4 separate regions of the Homo sapiens genome follow, and regions 2, 3 and 4 are each linked to region 1. The links are contacts of gene promoters, found by promoter capture Hi-C in blood cells and fetal thymus (Javierre and others, 2016). All regions are on one chromosome and are shown on one strand. Each heading gives the region's core, a stretch centred on a gene start or on the middle of the fragment in contact. The rest is flanking DNA. Distances are from core to core; before and after follow the strand shown. Region 1 holds the start of ZNF19 (zinc finger protein 19). Region 2 overlaps HYDIN (HYDIN axonemal central pair apparatus protein). Region 3 overlaps VAC14 (VAC14 component of PIKFYVE complex). Region 4 overlaps VAC14 (VAC14 component of PIKFYVE complex).

Evidence for each region. Contacts are between HindIII fragments. The CHiCAGO score rates a contact against its expected background, and 5 or more counts as called.
Region 2: a fragment that was not itself captured here is called in contact with the fragment with the promoter of ZNF19 in region 1 in 1 of 17 cell types (megakaryocytes); the score reaches 5.8 in megakaryocytes.
Region 3: a fragment that was not itself captured here is called in contact with the fragment with the promoter of ZNF19 in region 1 in 2 of 17 cell types (endothelial precursors and megakaryocytes); the score reaches 6.0 in endothelial precursors.
Region 4: a contact is called between a fragment that was not itself captured here and the fragment with the promoter of ZNF19 in region 1, in 1 of 17 cell types (erythroblasts). The highest score is 16.8, in erythroblasts.

Annotation. Positions count from the first base shown.
Region 1 is chr16:71,488,031-71,490,790 of GRCh38, forward strand. ZNF19 (zinc finger protein 19) reads right to left here and starts at 1,294. Exons shown (of 6, transcript NM_006961.4): 1 at 1,242-1,294. The HindIII fragment of the contact is 1,961 bases long and covers 1,063-2,760 here.
Region 2 is chr16:70,806,114-70,809,225 of GRCh38, forward strand. It overlaps HYDIN (HYDIN axonemal central pair apparatus protein), which reads right to left. Exons shown (of 86, transcript NM_001270974.2): 86 at 1-1,949. The coding sequence ends at 1,467. Among named protein-coding and RNA genes, the nearest start is that of VAC14, 6.5 kb to the left of the region's middle. The HindIII fragment of the contact is 3,024 bases long and covers 244-3,112 here.
Region 3 is chr16:70,782,812-70,785,872 of GRCh38, forward strand. VAC14 (VAC14 component of PIKFYVE complex) reads right to left here. Exons shown (of 19, transcript NM_018052.5): 3 at 2,891-3,058; 4 at 1,965-2,027; 5 at 1,302-1,409; 6 at 634-743; 7 at 222-328. Among named protein-coding and RNA genes, the nearest start is that of TRG-GCC2-5, 5.2 kb to the right of the region's middle. The HindIII fragment of the contact is 180 bases long and covers 1,722-1,901 here.
Region 4 is chr16:70,693,917-70,697,006 of GRCh38, forward strand. It overlaps VAC14 (VAC14 component of PIKFYVE complex), which reads right to left. Exons shown (of 19, transcript NM_018052.5): 17 at 1,628-1,707. Among named protein-coding and RNA genes, the nearest start is that of MTSS2, 9.4 kb to the left of the region's middle. RefSeq lists enhancers at 1-749, 750-1,575, 1,576-2,402. The HindIII fragment of the contact is 545 bases long and covers 1,498-2,042 here.

The sequences.
Region 1 (2,760 bases), core at 44-2,543:
GGAGTCTTAGCAAGAGCAAGGCCAGAAAAAGAAATAAAAGGCACATAGGTCAGACACAGTGGCTCACACCTGTAATCCCAGCACTTTGGGAGGCCAAGGTGGATGGATTGCTTGAGGCCAGGAGTTCAAGACCAGCCTGGCCAACATGGAGAAATCGCATCTCTACTAAAAATATAAAAATGAGCCAGGTGTGGTGGTGTGTGCCTGTAATCCCAGCTACTCAGGAGGCTGAGACATGAGAATTGCTTGAACCCGGGAGGTGGAGGATGCAGTAAGCTGAGAATATGCCACTGCACTCCAGCCTGGGTGACAGAACGAGACTATCTCAAAAAAAAAAAAAAAAGAAAAAGAAAAAGAAATGAAATGAAAGACACACAGATTCGAAACTCAGAACAAAACTGTTACTATCTGCAGGCAACATGATTATCTGTATAAGAAGTCCCAAAGAATCTACAAAACAAGCTCCTAAAATTAAAAGTGAGTTCAGACTGGTCACAGTGGCTCACGCCTGTAATCCCAGCACTTTGGGAGGCCGAGACAGGCGGATCGCCTGAGGTCAGGAGTTTGAGACCCGTCTGACCAACATGGTGAAACCCCGTCTCTACTAAAAATACAAAAATTAGCCGGGTGTGGTGGCAGGCACCTGTAATCCCAGCTACTCGGGAGGCTGAGGCAGGAGAATCACTTGAACTCGGGAGGCGGAGGTTGCAGTGAGTAGAGATGGTGCCATTGCACTCCAGCCTGGGTGACAAGAGCGAGACTTCGTCTCAAAAAAACCAAAACAAACTAACAAAAACATAAAAACACTATGGGACAATGGCATTTGTTTGGACACAGGTCTCCAAATCTGCCTCTTCAAAAGAAACAGACACTGCAACTGCAAGAGCCTTGGTTAAAGACTTAAGCCGGCCCCAACTAAGAGTGGGGATGGCTTCCCTAGGAGGTAGGAATCAGCTGGAGTCCTTGCCTCTCCTGGTGCCCAGGCAGTGCCATCTGCAGACACTTCTGTCATCCTCCCATCCTTGGGGGGCTCTTTCTCCAGCTCCAGTTCGTGAGCGGCAAAGCTTGCAGCTGTACAGCCTCCAAGAGCAAACAGCCCAGGTCCCACCCGGCCACAATTGTATAGTGACGCCCTCCCCGTCCCCTTCTTTGAGCTGCGCTCAAAGGACCAGCCTGGACTGCTATGCTGTCTCACTCCCAACCCAAGCTCCGCCCAACTGTGGGTCCTTGCACTTTGGCACCTTTGAGCGCGGACTCAAAACAGGCCAGAAGCGCACCGCTAGCGAGAACGGTTAGGAGGCCGGAAGTGCGTCACGCTTGTGGGGCGCTTGGAGGCCAGAAGTGCGTCATGAGCACGGCTGCTCTTTCTACGGTGCAACTTTTCCGCATCTCGGTGTTTCCGATTGGGAGACATCCTCTTCCTTTCCTTGTACACACTTTTTTCTCTCCTCAGGAACCTCACGCCTGGGTCATTGTCCATTTGGGTGGGTCAAGAAAGCGATCGCTTCTGCCCGGGAGCAGTTGATTGTCAGGAAGGAATTCGTGATAAAACCGCCATCACCACAGGCCTAGATGGTGGCCGGTGTTTCCTGGTTGCTTACTGGTCTTTCTGAGTTCTGGTTCACTCGCAGTGAATCAACTTCCTTTCACAAGCTCTGCCACTCACGGGCCATTGAGGAAGACCCTTGTGTCTCTGAGCAGCTTTTGTCTTCTGTAAAATGAGCCAGTCAGATTATACCATTCAAGCTGTCTTTAATTCCATGCACTGTAACCTCCAATGGTTTGCCACTACCCCTGGAGTCCAAGTCACCATTCAAGGCTCCTCAGACCCTTGCCCTCCTTCCCCTCTAAATGATAAAGAAAATGCCAAAAGCGCAGGGCATATGGGCTAAGAGAGATAGCTCTAAAGTGTTAGTGCCTGTGGCTTTCTGGGTCCACAAAAGAGAACTCTGGCCAGGATTTTGCTGGACTGTCAAAACGTTTGTGATCACTGTCACAGAATTACAAAACAAACTGGGGACTTAGAGCTTCTTAGTCCCATCTCCTTTACAACAGTATGACATAGTGGTAAGGAGCACAGCCTGGCATCAGGATGCTTTGTTTCAAAGGCCAAAGGACCACTCTGTGACCTTTGGTGCATTACTTAACCTGTAAGTGTCACATTTATTTCTAAAACTAGGATAATAATAGTATTTATTCCCCGGATTGTTGTGAGGATTAGATGTTAGTACATGTAAATCAGTACAATGTCTAGCACATACTAAACACTCACTAGATATTAGTAATTATTACACTCACTAGATATTAGCGATTATTAATAGCTTAGGAATTGAGCCTGAATAGGCTCTGGAGTTAATCCAGTATTCAATCTTTTTATTAAAACCTTTGAAAATGGTTATAAACCTCAGTGGGTTTGGGCATCTGTACACTTTTTACTACCAGACTAGATAGTATAAGCAAAGCCTGGTGGCAGTTCAGGGTTGGTTCTTAGAAGATCAGAGTGCTAAAATAGCTAGCTCATCATGAGCTGAGGACTTCCAGGATGACTAGTTGGACTTGCTGTTCAGTTGGGACTTCAGCAACACAAGTCCAGACAAATGGGACCATGATCCAGGTCTTCAAGAGCAACCCTCAGGCTTTCTGCAGAGTGTAAACTCCTCAAGAAAGAGGCTTTTCTATCTTGTCCATGACTGTATCCTGAGTTTCTAGAATAGTGTTTATAACACAGTTCATGATCAATAATCATTTTTTGATGAATAA
Region 2 (3,112 bases), core at 506-3,005, 680 kb before region 1:
CACATGGGTAGTGATGCTGGCATATTATTATAATTATTACATTTTATTATTATTATTGTTAATGTCTTACTGTGCCTAATTTATAAATTAATCAAAGGTATGTATGTAAAGGAAAATACCACAGTATATGGAGTGTTCAGTACTATCTGTGGTTTCAGGCATCTACTGGGCACCTTGGAATGTATCCCCTGAGGATGAGGGAGGACTATTGTAAAGGTCTGTGTTTACAGACATTCTAGAAAAAGCTTTTTTGGTCCTAGAGTATACTGGGCTAGGGTTGTGGGGAGGTACAGAAGAAGGAGAAGAGTCTCCCTCCATGAAAGCCACCTCTGACAGGTATAAGGACTTGCTAAAAGATTGCCGGGCCACACCTACAGACTTTTTGATTCAGTCGATCTGACATGGGGACTGAGAGTTTGACTTTTAATAAATTCCCAGGTGATAGTACTGCTGCTGGCCCAGGGACCATTTTTAAGACCCACTTCTTTACGGCATTCATTCCCAAGAGGCCATCTTCTTCCAGTCTCCTGCCCCTCTTGTAGGAGGGCTGTGGGGGATGAGTGTGGGGAGCAGGTAGAGGCAGGGGGACCCTCCGTCAGAGGTGTATGTCTGCAGAAGCAAACCCATGCCAGGGCCAGACTTTAACCATCTGCTATACAAGTTAAATGTATATAATAAAGATGCCCACACCCCTCTCCAGACCAATTACATCAGATGGGGACTGGGCACGTTCAGAGTGAGAGTTAGGTGGTCCTGATGTGCAGATGGGTTGAGAATCCCTGCTCTCCTGCTGAATGCTATCCAAGGCGGGGTGTGTATGTGTGGTGGGGGGAGCTGGGATCTCTATTAGCCTTTCTCCAGGGCCTAGACTTCAGTGAGAACTTTCTGTGTAGGGCAGATGTGGGATTCGGACACTGATGGTATAAAAGCCAAGAGAAAAAGTGATGGGAGTGTCCCTGGATTGCCCTAATGTTATCTGCTCATCCCTCTGAAAATATTTATTTGGCTTTTATGTGAAAGCAGAATAAAATGCCACATCAAAATAGTCATGTCTAAGGGCTTTTTAAACCATTTTGGATTTTAAAAAGAAACTGCAGTACCCAGCGTCACGCATTGCTAAGTGTTGTAGAGTAGAAGGTCACTAGTGTGATACCTGTGCCTTCTTGATAAAAATGGGAATTATTACAAAGTACTTGAGCTTTGGGGCTATGTCAAGAAACTCAATTTAGGGACTCACAAGGATTCAGTTGTCTAAAATATAGAGCTGTTGTGTGTAGTTATAATGTTTAATATGGAATAGATATTTCATATCTATATTTGGAAAACACATAATAGGGAAATAACTGCCCTATAATTGTATGAGAAGAATAAAAACAGTTCCTTTAGAATTCTTATTGTTTTCTCTATTCTTTTTCAGGCTAAGACAATGCATAGCTTTTGGTTGATACAGGTAACCCTGGTTACCACTAAAGGGTGATCCCCTTCAGATAATAAACCCATTTAACTCCAGTCTCACTCCCTTCACCAGGAGGGCAGCTCACAGTCAGCTTGGTGGTGATGGGGGTTTTGCTGCCAGATGGGTTTCCTTCAAAGGAGACTGTGATGTTGTTGATCTTCTTGGGCCGCACAGACTCTCCAGCGCGAATGGTGAAGGCTGGGTTATCCACGATGATGGAGAAGGTCACCATGTGATAGAAGACATTCTTGAAGGGGATGATTATGCTGTACCCGGCTCGGATCGAGAAGGGACCTTGGGGCTTGGGAGGCAGAGCCATTCCAAAGAGGGGGATGATATACTCTCCACCTGCGAGCGATGATAGGATCAGGATGCCCTTGGTCTCACCCAGGTGGCTGGGCTCGAATAAGACTTCCACACTGGCTTCAGTGCCTCCCTGGCCTCCTGGGGCTGCATTAATGAGTTTTTCTGCGTGGAAGTCTGTACAGTCGGTCTGAAAGGGGAACAAACAAACTCAGCTCACGTGAGATCCTGAAGAGCACACCAGGAGCTCAAGTCTACCCCAGCCCCTCCACTCCTGGACATCAAGCAACTATGTCTGTGTGAGACTGGGAATGTTATAAAGTTGTGTCCTTATAACTCCCTTGTAGGGTAGGTATTACTAATTATTATTTCTATTTTGCTACAAAGAAACAAAGGCAAAGAGATGTTAATAATGTGTACTGAGACACACAGCCACATTACGTTAATAGGGCAGTCATGGATGCTGATCCCCTATATTCGGTTCTTTCCTTCCATGTACATGGAAGACCAAACATTCTGGTTCCTTGCAGATGGGTGGTGCTAGTTCCAGACAACTAGCTGTGAGCAGAAGTGAAAGGTGTCACTTCCATGCTAGAGCCTTTCATTGCCAATTTAACTCCTGTCAGGGTCCTTTCACCACTCTAATACTGTACTGGAAATATTTGAGATGGTGCTTGAATCCCAAGAGACTGAGATGAGCAGGGTCCCCTGCTGGCCTCTCTGGAAAATTGCTCAAATGAGAAACAAGCCTTCATCTTAAGCCCCTGTGATTGCTACTGCACCTAACCTAGCATCTCTTGGCTGATACAACTGATCAAGAGCCTCTGCCTCTTGGCTACAGCCACAAGATCTCTGATTTTACCTGGGCATGTGACTGCCCAGTACAAAAGCTACCTTTCCTAGCTCCTTTGTTGATAGGTGTGGTCCTGTGAAGTTTTGTTCCATGGAATATTAGTAGAGGTGATATATACAACTGTCCCCTCTTCCCTTGTAGCTGGCTGGAATGTGGATGTCCTGATAAACCATCTTGGCCCACGTGGACCAAAACAGCTCCCTTCAGAGGGCAGAGCATCGGGACAGAAGATGTCTGGGTGCCTGGTGTCAGCGAGCTGCCATTCCAGCTCAAACTGCTTATGCCCAGACTGTTATTTGTGAGAGAAACCAACACCTAATTTGCTGTTATTTGTGGTTTCTGTTTTTTAGAATTTTATTTTATGTTTTTAAATAGAGATGAGGTCTCGCTATGTTGCCCAGGCTGGTCTTCAACTCCTGGCTATAGCGATCTTCCCACCTGAGCCTCCCAAAGTGCTAGGATTGCAGATGTGAACCACTGTGTCTAGCTTTGGGTTTCTG
Region 3 (3,061 bases), core at 562-3,061, 700 kb before region 1:
TGAAAGGACCTCTGTGTCTCTGTGGTGACAGAACCCAGACCTCCCTCTGTGAGACCCAGCACTCCACCTCTCCCAGGGCCCACTGTCACACTGGCTAATATTCCTACCAGGAATCTCCCCTGCCCCCTCACTGAAGCTGAGATGGTGAAAGGGGCTTCTGCAGAGGTGGCAGTGGCAGCAGCAGTGGCAGCCGTGGCTGTGGGCCCTCCCCCAATACTCACCTGTTGTCTGGCAGTGGATCACCAGGATGTTGGCCATCTCAGCAAACTTCACACTGGAGGGGTTCTTCTTAATTTCTTTTAAGAATTCTCCAAGAACAACCTCACACCTATGAACAAGAACAGGAAAGTGGAAACAGCGAGGGTCAGCCAGGGCTGGAGGAGCCTCAAACCAGCCCCATTTCCGTGCTGGGTCAGCCACCCAGAGGGCGGCTTGGCTTTTGGACTTGTCAGGTGATCATTTTCAGATGCTGGGGGTTGATGGGCTCTTGGCTCCTCAAAGCGGGAAGCACAAGAGCCAGGAAGAAGAGGTGATTTCCTGCCCTCCTGCCGCGGCCTCTCTGTGGGCATGAAGCACATGGGCACAGCTGGGGGTGGCAGGAGGCAGCAGCTTCCTGCCCCTTACTCCACTCACATTTTGCGAATCTCTTTGCCATTGTCACCCAGGATCTGGAAGAGTCCATCCAGGATCTCCGGCAGGTAATCCAGCAGGTTAATGTCTGGCACCGACTCCAGAACCAGGATCTGACCAGGGGAAGGGAACAGGAGGGGAAGTCAGCTCCAGAACCCTGTTTCCTGCTCACCAAGCCTCTGGGACTGGGCTGTAGGAAGGGGACCCTGCTGAGACAGCATTTCCCTGCAGTGCAGGTGTCCCATGTGGGAGGAGGGTGCTGGCAAGGACAGTCAGCATTTCTTGTTTAATGTGCAGGGGAATGGCAATTTGACTCTAAGGAAATTCGGATGCCCAGGGGAGAAGGGGATGGATGGGGAAGGACAGAAAAGGCTAGAAAAAGTGAGATTGCTGGAAGTAGCACTGCTGGCTTTAAAGGAAACTCAGGTGTTTTCTGGGACAAGGAAAGAACTGGACTCCCTTCCAGGGCAACAAGAACCTGATCCCTTCAGGGCCAACATGGTGGGTTTCGGGGGCAAAGCTGAATAAGGTGTTTTTGAATTATCAGGTGTTAATGGCTATTCAAGGGAGAACATGGAGGGTTCCTATAGCCAAAGGGCCTGACAAGAGTGTGCTAGAGAGCAGATTTTCCAAACTGGAGGCTGGAGAAACGGTGTCCGGCCAGGCCTTACCCAGGAGATGATGAACTGCCGGGCATACTGGTTGTTGGAGTAAATCCTCTCTCGCAACAAGGGGATGAAGCTCACCAGGTCAAACTTGTTGCTCTCAGTCACAATGTCCTGTGGATCAGAGGAAAGTGAGCTGCCGAGAGCCCGAGACCAGGGCTGCCTGACCTCGCTGAATCACTTGCCCAGGGCTGGCTCCAGCGCTCAGGCGGCCACCAAGGAAAATGGCAGATCCTGAGCTAGGCATAAGAGGTCTCTGGAGTATTCATCCTGTCCCAGTCCACGGGATACGAAAAACGGGTAGATTGAAAGCAGGAAGCAAAGTCGAGAGAACCAACTGAATGGCAAGACCCTACTCTCTGTGGTCTGGATGGAATGCCCAGGCCCCTGCTGTCAGGGCCAGAGAGGTGTGGAAAGTGACAGGCAAGCTTCTTTGCTCTAGGTGGCGGCAACAAAAGGGGACATTTTGGGTGATGGCACAGTTCTGTATTTGATAGTGGTGATTGAGCTCGATATTCTTGTCATAGAACTGCACACCAGGGAGTACATGTAAATTTAAAATATATTTTAAATTCAAGAAGAACATTCCCAATGACAGAATTTCTAAGCTTTACAGACAGACGGGAGAAACAGATTGTAGAAATAAAAGTGGGGACAAAGTACAAATACCTTTAAAAGGCGGTCTAGGAGCTCAGATCCGCTTTTCACATTGGGGTCTGGGTCGGCTGCCAGCTGCAAGAGGCACAGACAGGGGAGGGACACAGAGGCGAGGGTCACGGTTGGATGCAAGACCAGGGATTTCCTGCAAATCCGCAGCCGAGGCCTTGGTGCAGCCCAGAACATCTAGCAAGAACATCACCCTTTCGGTGAACACATTTGAGAAAGGCTGGGAAAGTGGGAGTGGGTACAATGGAGTTGGCTGAGGAGCAGATTCAGGAAATACCCTTCTGTTCAGGGACTTCTCCCATGACCCGCTGGGGTTCCTGTTCCCTGTTGTGACTGGGTCACGGGGTTGCTTCCCGTCAGCCTTCCCCAGGGGTTTCCAATCTTAAAGCGCTGGGTCCTTGTTCCACTCCTGGAGGAGGGGACAGGGTAGCTGCGAGGCTGATACTCTAGAAACTTCCGTGGCATTCTGCAGGGGCAGCAGCATTGCAGGGCTGCTCCGCGCCTGGGAAGGGAACTCCACCAGGCTGCAAGAGGCACGGAGGAGAGCATGAGCTTTTTCTAGGGCACTTATGAGCTAGACTAAGTGCAGCCCTCCCTAAAGGGAAAGTACGGTCTGGATGATGGCGTCAGCATCATCCCCTTCTACCAGGGAGGCGAGTGTTTCACAGACTATCAGCTTCTTCCCTCTACTGTATGGCAGACTGATACTTATATCAAATGCAATCAAAATGAATTAAAAGAGAAATGAAAAAAGGTATAAATGCAAGTCCATTAAAAATGATTAGATTCAACAGACAGTAAGTGTCCCTTGCAGCCACATGCTTGTTTGCTCTGCTTGCATCTGGGAAAAGGGGTCCAAGGTTCCAGAAGGTCAAGTGAGGTGGGGGAACCAAGCGCAGCTCAGTGAGGAGGAGGAGGAGGGCGGTTACCTTGCTCAGCCCGTCAAAGAGCACGTTGAAGTGGGGCAGCACAGCGCCCCGGGCCACCTTGACGATGTTGTAGAGGGCCTCGCAGGCATAGTAGCGCAGCCTGCTGTCTGCATCATTGAAGCAGGTCAGCACTGGCTCGATCAGCTCCTTCAGGTAGAGCCCTGAGTCCTG
Region 4 (3,090 bases), core at 520-3,019, 790 kb before region 1:
GGTGCGCAGGGAGCAGAGGAATGGAGGCCTGCTGGCGCCCTCCAGAAGAGACCCCCACCACCACTGTCCTAGGCCTGGCTGCCCAGCAGAAGCGCGAGCCTGTTTCCAGTCCTTTCTTCCCTTTGGGCCTTTGGGAAGCAGGCACTGCCGGTGGCCACACCAGCCACCTCTAGGATCCAGGCGACTCAGGGCTGGGACGGTGTTGGGCGAGACCAGGGTGTGTCTCTCCTGTTACCCTGCCCCAGCAAAGCCCTGGGCTTGAGGAGAAGGTGCTTGGAGTTCCTCCAGGGTCAGGGAGGGAGGGCAGTCATCCTAGGGATGCTTCTGGAATGCCAAGAATGTACAACTGGAGAGATGAGTCAGGACAGACCAGCAGCAGGAGCAGGGTCTTTTTAGGATCTGACCTCAGGCGGCCGTGTGGGTGCCTGTGTCCCTGGGAGGCCCTCGGGGAAGTGTCACGCTGGGCACACCTGGGACAGGCTTTAGCGCACTCTGCGGAGAGCAGGGTCTCCCCCCTGCTCTTCTGTCTCCAGGGCATCAGTTCCTACGGCACCCTGCTGCTTGATGAGGCTGCCCTTTGAAGGGGGCTCAGGAGGGGATGGGAACGGGTGTTCTTCAGCCCCTGCATTCAATTCAGGCTCCAGGGCTCAGGCTGATGGGCTTAGGCCGGGCGGGTCAGAGACGCTGCCAGAGAGTGGGAGAGGCCGGGTGGCCAGCTTGGCAGGGAAGGTGGCCACCAGCAGAGTGGCCTCCTGGCTTCTCTGCACATTATAAGCACATAAGCGTCATTCAAAGTGTGTATGTTGAGGTGCTGAGAGCTGTGCTCGCCCCAGCCAGCTGCCACTTTTGCACATTCAGCCTGGGTGTTACTAAGCAGGCAGCTCCTGCCCACTGGCTCCCAGCAAATGCCAACTCTTCTTTCAGAGAGGTACAGGCATGGCTCTTGGGCCAACAGGAGCACCTGCAGAGGGACTCGGGACCCACAACTTCAGAGAGCCAGAGCAGAGGCAGCAGACCCGGAGGGGTGGCTGGGGACAGCCCAGGGGCCTGGTATCAGCCTTCAAGGGGGTTCTGCTGTCAGCGCTGGCTCATGTCCAGGAGACTCACTGTGAGGGATACAGGCAGGATCCAGGTTCTGATGCCACGTGCCCCAGCCCTGCTCTGGCTGGCCTTGCAGGCCTATCATCCCAGTCTTTTTTTTTTTTTTTTTTCTGAGGCAGGGTCTTGCTCTGTCACCCAGGCTGGAGTGCAGTGGTACAGTCACAGATCACTGTAGTCTCAACCTCCTGGGCTCAAGTGATCCTCCTACCTCAGCCTTCTGAGTAGTGGTGACTATAGGCATGCACTCTCATGCCTGGCTAATTTTTAAAAAATTTTGTGCAGATGAGATCTCACTATGGTGCCCAGGCTGGTCTCGAACTCCTGCCGTTAAGAGATGCTCCAGCCTCAGCCTCCAAAGTGCTGGGATTATAAGTCTCACATTCTCAACATTCCAGAAGCTTCCCTGGGGTGACTGCTCTTCCTCCCTCCCCAGCCAAAAGAGACCAACTGGAGCTTGACTTCACCCACCCCACTCCAGGGCAGCCTTGGACTCATGGCGCGAGGTGTGGTGGGAGGTGGTTCTTACATGTGAAGATGGGGCACTCAATCAGCTGCACCAGCTTGTCCACCTCTGCGAGGAAGTCCACGGTGACCTCCAGGTCCCCACTGGGTGTGCAGTCAAGGAAAGTCTGTCTGCTGGGCCAGCACAGCCGCAGCTCACAGCACCACACGCCCTCCCCCCCTGCACCTGGCTTCCTGTGCACAGAGCCTGGTTGTGGTGAAGCAGGATTTGGCGCACAAAGGACACCAGGCTCTTCCCTGTTCCTCGCCTTTCTGTCCTAAATGGAACTCCCCTGTTCAGGAGTTCCAGGTTCCACTCTAGCAGCTGTCTCCTCTGCACCCTCCCGGGCTGGGAGAGGCTCTTATCACAGCGCTGCAGCCCGTTGGGGGAGGGCTGGGCAGGAAGGGTTCTCTCCTTTCCTGCCAGCAGGGCTGCAGCAAGCTTGCGGCACTGGGCAGTGGCCTGCCAGTCTCTGGGTGACAGAAGTGGCTGAGAGGAGCAAATCCAGGTTGTAGAAGGGAAGCAGGCACACTGTGGGGAGCCAGGCAGGGCCACACCTAGCCCTCCACTGAGGCACCTCCTGGTCCCTTCTTCCTTACTCCCAACTCCTGGCTGGTCATGTTGCCTTCTAAATAGCACTCCAATCCTGGGTTACATGTCAGGCACCCATGGATGGGGCTAGTTTGCTTACTGGTGTTTTAAAAAAAATCTGGCCAGGCGCGGTGGCTCACACCTGTAATCCCAGCACTTTGGGAGGCCGAGATGGGCAGATCGCTTGAGGTCAGGAGTTTGAGACTAGCCTGGCCAACATGGTGAGACCCTGTCTCTACTAAAAATACAAAAATTAGCCGGGCATGGTGGTGAACGCCTGTAATCCCAGCTACCTGGGAGGCTGAGGCAGGAGAATCACTTAAACCCAGGAGGCGGAGGTTGCAATGGGCCAAGATCGCCCCACTGCACTCCAGCTTGGGTGACAAAGCAAGACTCCACCTCAAAAAACAAAACATCTAACTCTGGATGCCTTTTGATGAGCGCAGTGCTGAGGTGAGAATGGGTGCCTCCTGCTTCTGAGGCCTCTGCCCAGCCTGCTTCTCCCCAGTGTGTCATCCTCAAGCCTGTCGGGCTCTAGCTCTGTGGCCCCCGAAGGCCCACGCCTGGGCTGAAGCCTGCAGGCTCACCCAGCCATCCACCCATATTCCCAGCTCCAGGCCTTCTCCCCCACCCCCACACCAGGCCCAGGAGGAACTACAATGAGCAGAGGGCAGCCACCTTCTCCCAGGGGCAGGAGCTGGGGTTCTCTCCCACCCCAGCAAGATGGTCCAGCATCACCCGCTGGCACCTGCCGGGCTGGGCCTACTCAGTCCCAATCCCAACCCACAGGGTTTCTCCCGGGCCAGCTCCCCCTCCAAGAGCCCCTCTTTGCTGCCAATCTCGCTCTCCCAAATACGTCCCTCCCCTCCCAGTGTCCTGGCAGCCCTGATGTCACA